2 separate regions of the Homo sapiens genome follow, and region 1 is linked to region 2. Evidence: promoter capture Hi-C in 16 types of primary human blood cells and fetal thymus (Javierre and others, 2016). All regions are on one chromosome and are shown on one strand. Each heading gives the region's core, a stretch centred on a gene start or on the middle of the fragment in contact. The rest is flanking DNA. Distances are from core to core; before and after follow the strand shown.

Evidence for each region. Contacts are between HindIII fragments. The CHiCAGO score rates a contact against its expected background, and 5 or more counts as called.
Region 1: a fragment that was not itself captured here is called in contact with the fragment with the promoter of MAPK1IP1L in region 2 in 1 of 17 cell types (naive CD4 T cells); the score reaches 5.5 in naive CD4 T cells.

Annotation. Positions count from the first base shown.
Region 1 is chr14:55,371,013-55,373,981 of GRCh38, forward strand. All of the region lies in intron 9 of ATG14 (autophagy related 14), which reads right to left. It also overlaps a transcript of FBXO34 not described here. Among named protein-coding and RNA genes, the nearest start is that of ATG14, 39 kb to the right of the region's middle. The HindIII fragment of the contact is 5,534 bases long and covers 1-2,969 here.
Region 2 is chr14:55,049,881-55,053,089 of GRCh38, forward strand. It overlaps MAPK1IP1L (mitogen-activated protein kinase 1 interacting protein 1 like), which reads left to right and starts at 1,767. Exons shown (of 4, transcript NM_144578.4): 1 at 1,767-1,923. RefSeq lists enhancers at 1,129-1,818, 1,358-1,557 and silencers at 1,588-1,827, 2,178-2,337. The HindIII fragment of the contact is 10,117 bases long and covers 1-3,209 here.

The DNA of each region.
Region 1 (2,969 bases), core at 142-2,641, 320 kb after region 2:
TCCTCCCTGTAGGCAGCCACCCCCACCCACTGCCTTCCAGGGAACTGCCCTGCAACCAGCTACAGGGTGGGACCAAGGTGCCGCTCTCTCCCTGCTGCTGCCCCCAAGATAAGCACACGATGCCTTGGTTCATTTAAGGGTTTCACTGATAACGACTTTGGGGAAAATAGGAGAGGTCGAAATAAATAGCAGGCAGAAATGAGAGCCTAGAATCGTATAGCTTGCCATTTCAGCCTATGGTCCCAAATTCTCCACAGCCTTCACAATGATGAATGGCTAGCACTGGCTTCCAACGCACCTCACCAGGTCTGCACCGTTGACTCACTTTTTACAGAAGCAAGCAGCCCTCATTCCTCCCAGACACCTGTGCTTCCCAGATGGATTAAGCAATAATAATAGCTAACATTTATGCTCCAGGGACTGTTTTTAGGGCTTTATTAAATTGGAAGATACGCCATGGGGTTTCCCACTTGGTCTCCAGTGAGCAATTTACATTTTCCAAGAGCCCCTCAGGCCGGGCGCGGTGGCTCACACCTGTAATCCCAGCACTTTGGGAGGCTGCGGCGGGCAGATCACGAGGTCAGGAGATCGAGACCATTGGCTAACACAGTGAAACCCTGTCTCTACTAAAAATACAAAAAATTAGCTGGGTGTGATGGCGGGCACCTGTAGTCCCGGCTACTCAGGAGGCTGAGGCAGGAGAACGGTGTGAACCCCAGAGGCGGAGCTTGCAGTGAGCCGAGATGGCGCCAGTGCACTCTAGCCTGGGCGACAGAGCGAGACTCTGTCTCAAAAAACAAACAAAAAAACAAAGAGCCCCTCAGACTAGGGGTGCTCTCAAGTTTACTAGGCCCCACCCTGCCCAGAAGTCAGTATTTTGCAAGGGTGAAAGGAGTAGGACTTTCTACTGCCCCTTGAATTTCTCTGCCAGCAAACTAATGGCCACTGCAGTTTTTAGCTCTGAGCACCCTCTTCTCAAGTTTCTCCTTGCACTTCATTTCTTTTCTCCCCTTTTTCTTTTCCTTGGCAAACAGTTCTACTCTAGAGCCATCTTTTCCGATTCCTCTCCTAGCGCCACTCCCAAATATCCTCTGGTTACTAAACCCTCAGGCTCATCTCACATATCTGAACCAGTCTCAAAACTTTAGCTGGCTGGGACTCCTCCCCTCCCACCTCCCACTCTGTCTGGGGTCACCAGGGCTACCTGTTATCATTAAATAAGCCCCCTTTCCATTCTCAATTTGTCACCCTGGCCCAGGTCCTCACCATATCACCACCACTTTCCCATCTGCCTCCTCTTGCTGGAGAGCTGCCTCTCTCCTCCTGGCACGCACCCACTAAAAAAGTTCACAATTTAAATTCCTTCCCTGGGCTCCCTCCTTTACTAAACCAAAGATGCTCTGATTCTGTTCTGTTCAGCTGTGCAGTCTAGGGGACCTCAGAACTGACTGCCAGGCTAAGTCTCTCATCTTCCCCAGGATCCCCCAAAGGTCCCAGTCAGCTTTTTACCACAGCTCACTCCTCCCTTCCTTCTTTCCCTTTCTCCCTCCCTCCCTTCTTTCCATCCTTTCTTCCTCACTCCTTCCCTTCCTCCTTCCCTCCCTCCCTTCCTTTCTTCCCCAGTCAGCTTTTTCCACAGCTTGCTCCTTCCTTCGCTCCTCCCTGCTCCCTTCCTTCCTTCCTTCCTTTTTACCACAGCTCCTTCCTTCTTTCCTCCCTCCCTCCAAGGCTCAGCCTGTTTTCTTCTTTGATGCTGCCTTCTCCAATCCTGGGGTCTTAGTTTTCCCAGGAGACAGGCAGAAGGGACAGAGAGGAGGAAATGTCCAAGTTCCCGGTGGACTCCGGTTCTCTGCGTGGAGAAACCCACCTGGCACGGAGCAGGCGCTCAGCTAAGTACAATGAAAAGCGACTGAATGGAAGACTCCTCAAGGGGCCAGTATGGAACAATTTTGGTTCCAATGATCAACCTACATTTCTGAGAAGCCACAGAGCAGGAGGAGAGGCCCCTGCGATGTTTCTCCACCCAGTGCCTCTCCCACTTCTAGATTAGAGATACATCACCTGCCTGCCAGACCCCAAGCTAGAGACACAGCACACACAACCAACTAGCAAAATAATTCATCCTATTTTGCTTAATGTCTTTGGGGAATTAAGATTATAAAATTGTTTCCTAATTTTTAGTTTAGCTGAATAATGGATATCTTTTTATTCAAGACCCTGAACCAGGAATACTCATTTTCTCATGGTGCTGCAGGGAGGTATTCTACCAATTAAGGCAACAAAAGGATCTTTCTAGCTTTGTAAAAGTCACTTTTATAATATATCCTATTTCAAATATGTGGGAGTGTGTGCATTGATGGACACAGAAACTGCACAAAGGATAAGCAATGGGCAAAATATTAATAGGTCAATCTGGGTAAGGGTGTATATGACTGTACTATTTTTATTACTTATTTTTTTATTTTGAGATGCAGTCTCACTCCGTTTCCCAGGCCAGAGTGTAGCAGCACGATCTCAGCTCACTGCAAACTCCGCCTCCTGGGTTCAAGCGATTCTCCTGCCTCAGCCTCCCAAGTAGCTGGGGTTACAGGCACCCGCCACCACGCCCAGATAATTTCAGTACTTTTAGTAGAGATGCAGTTTCCCATGTTGGCCGGGCTGGTCTCAAACTCCTGAACTCAAGTGATCCGCCCACCTCAGCCTCCCAAAGTGCTGGGATTACAGGTGTGAGCCACCATGCCTGGTCCTATTTTTATTTTTTTGTAATTTTTCTGTAAGTTTAAATTTGTTTCAAAAAAAAAAAAAAAAGTTTATCTTTTCAGAATAGAATCCTCAGTTGTGCCGGTCTGAACAGAAACAGGAAATCCCACCCAGGTTCCATGAACAATCTTCTCTACACTTTGATTCTGATGAAGCAGGTGTGAAAAGGGGACTCCTGAAGTTCTACTTCCTGTCCTCTGGCCATAAAC
Region 2 (3,209 bases), core at 517-3,016:
ACCCCTCCAACGTGCTCAGCTACTGGCTGATTGCAGGCAAGGAAAAGTTGGAGGCTATCCATTACTGGTACACAGCGCCAGGACTAGGGTATGGTGAGGCACTTAGGGACAAATATTTGACTATACGACTAAGGAAGACAATGTTTTGGTACAATATTGTAATATCTGAATTGATGCAAAAAAGCCTATGATGAGCAAGATACCAAATTTCAAATCAAACCTGACCAGATTACTGATTTCTTGTTGCTTCAGGTTTCAGCATGGCTCAAGGCACTGCTGATTCACTGTCACCAGTGAGAACAGGCTAGGTCCACACCAGTCGTGTAATTTTCCATAGGCCTGTGTGCCCTTACCCAAAAATAAGACTCTCGGCTTAGGTATTTGAAGTTCCTCTGTTGCCCCTTTTTCAGTGTGAGAATTGTGTGTGCTGTGGAAAACATCCAGGGATGTCTTCCTTTAAACAAGTTCATGGTTAAATGGCCACCCACTCACTCACTAATGCCTTACACAAAGCAAGATGCAAGTGTACCACATACTTTTAGGATATTTTTATATCTTAAAAAATGTATATTGGCCGGGCACAGTGGCTCACGCCTGTAATCCCAGCACTTTGCCGAGGAGGGCGGATCACAAGATCAAGAGATCGAGACCATCCTGGCCAACGTGGTGAAACCTCGTCTCTAAATACAAAAATTAGCTGGGCAAGGTAGCGCGCGCCTGTAGTTCCGGCTACTTGGGAGGCTGAGGCAGGAGAATCGCTTGAACCCGGGAGGCGGAGGTTGCAGTGAGCCGAGATCGCACCGCGCCACTGCACTCCAGCCTGGCGACAGAGCAAGACTCCGTCTCAAAAAAAAAAAAAAAGTATATTGCATATATGTATATATTTTGCACACCATATAATTATCACGACATCTTTATTGCTAGTTAGTAGGTTCCTTGACTGGGGTCATGTCATCTGTGCCTGACACAGGAGGTAATGTTTATTCAGAAATGAAGATGGCGGCTGGGCACGGTGGCTCACACCTGTAATACCAGCTCTTTGGGAGGCCGAAGCGGGCAGATCGCTTGAGGCTAGCAGGGTGAGACCCCATCTCTATCAAAAACACAAAAATAAGCCGGATGTGGTGGCACATGCCTGCAGTCTCAGCTACTCGGAGGCTAAGATGGGAGGATTGCTTGAGACCAGCAGGCAGAGGTTGCAGTGAGCCGAGATCGCGCCACTGCACTCCAGCGTGTGTGACAGAGGCCCTGTCTCAAAAACAACAAAAAAGAACATGGGAGAAGAGGCATTGATGAGGAAAAATCTACAAAGAAAGCAAATATCAATTTGTCAAGCTATTTGCAAACGTCTTCCCTTTCCTGTATTAATATTTTCCCTCTCCCCACTTTTGGCCCGAGGATCTGAGTCCTCGGGTCAGGCCGAAATCAGACCGCGTCCATACCCAGCCTCCTTCGAGGCCTAGCTGTAAAAACCGCTGAGCAAAAGGAATCCAGAATCAGCCCTCAAGCAACTCAAGACAAGTTAGCAATTTCCGCCGGGAAGCCGTGAACATCGGCAGCCACTGGCGTTTCCTCCGAGTCCTCGGAACTCCGGAAACTCTGGGAGCTTTTAGCCCGCCCACCAGGGGAAAGCGGCCCGGAGCCGGCGCCAGGTGGAGCCCATCCCCCTAGGCCTGGCGGGCCGCAGTACCGCCAGGGGCCTGCGGGAGGCGCACGCGGCGCGGCCTGAGGGGAGGGGGAGAACGGGCGGAGGCGGTGCGCTCGGCGCTTCCTGTTCCGGCGCCAGGAGGAGCCGCGCGCTGCTGGTGCTGTTGCCGCCGCTGCTCTAGCTGCCGTCAGTCAGGCTGCGCCCGCGTCTTCAGGGCCCAGTCCCTCGGACCCATCGCCGCTTCTAGACCCTACTGCGGTCTCGGATATTGCCGGGTGAGGCTGCTTCGGTACTAGTGGGAGTCGTGAAGGGGAATCGGGGAGCTGGGGTTGCGGAGCCCGCGGGCGCGGCCAAGCGGGAAGCGGGCGCGGTGACCGAGGTGCATCGAGTCACGTCCAGTGCTCGGGCCGTGGTCGCCTGCCTGGCACCAGGACTAAGCGTTTCTATCGGTCGCCTTCCTCCACGCTGCGGGCTGCCTGGGGATCGCCCCCCAGGGAGAAGGTGTCGGAGGCCGCTGACGTCGCGCCCGACGGGTTTCTGGGCGCCTGACGTCAGGTCTGGCTGCGGGGCGGGGCGGGCGCGGGCCGGCCCCTCCCCCACCCCTTCCCGGCGGGCGCGACCCGCTAGGAGGCCGGTTCGCTCCGGTTGATCCCGGACTCCCTTTGTTCGTGCGTCCCTAAACGGCTGCCGGCCTCGCGCCCCTTGGCCCCGATTTCCCCTCTACCCCCACCCTATTACACTCATTCATTAATTTTTAATAAAAAGGGAAAGGCCTGAAAAGATTCTTACAAGAGTCTCGGGCGCTTGTTAATCCGCAGTGTGACAACGTTCTGGTTATGACTTACTAGAGGAATTGCTCACGGATACATTAGATGAATACCCAGGGCAAACCACGAGAAGGGCAGAATTCAGTGATCTCCTTTTTTAGGACTGAGGAGCACATACCTGCGATAGCGTATGCATAGCTGGACCGTTTTCCTCTTTACCTTGAAAAGCAAGAGTACAGCTTTTAATAGGTAAAGATTCCAGTGTTAAAGCATGAAGCCAGGCTCACTCGACCGCAAGAATTTTTTTTAGTTTTACTACTAGAGAAATACACACCTGGGGGTTGTAAAGGTCTGTTTCGAAAAGGAACCCTCATTACAGGCAAAGGTAGCCTTCAGAAACATTTCATAAGTTCTTTGTTCACTGGTGTTCTTTGGGGGAAGAATAGAAATTTTTCATGCTGGCATCTCTGAGCCCACAATGCAAAGCGAGTTTGCTTCAGAAACTTGGAGTGAATTGCAAATATTGGAATGTTCTTTTCCTCACTCCAGGCGGAATGGGTAAAATCCATCCCCAGTCTCTTAACTGAAACTTTTGAAGCTAGTGTGTTTTGAATTCAAAAATACTTGGATTTTATCTTCATCTTTTTAGAAAGTCATGTTAGACGAGAGATAACACCCCCAGCAGAGTGGGGCACCCCATAATCCAACATTAATATTTGCAGCAATAGATGTGAACATTCATTCTAAGTGGGGGCGAATAGAAACTATAAATAGCTTCAGGTCACATTTTGCCA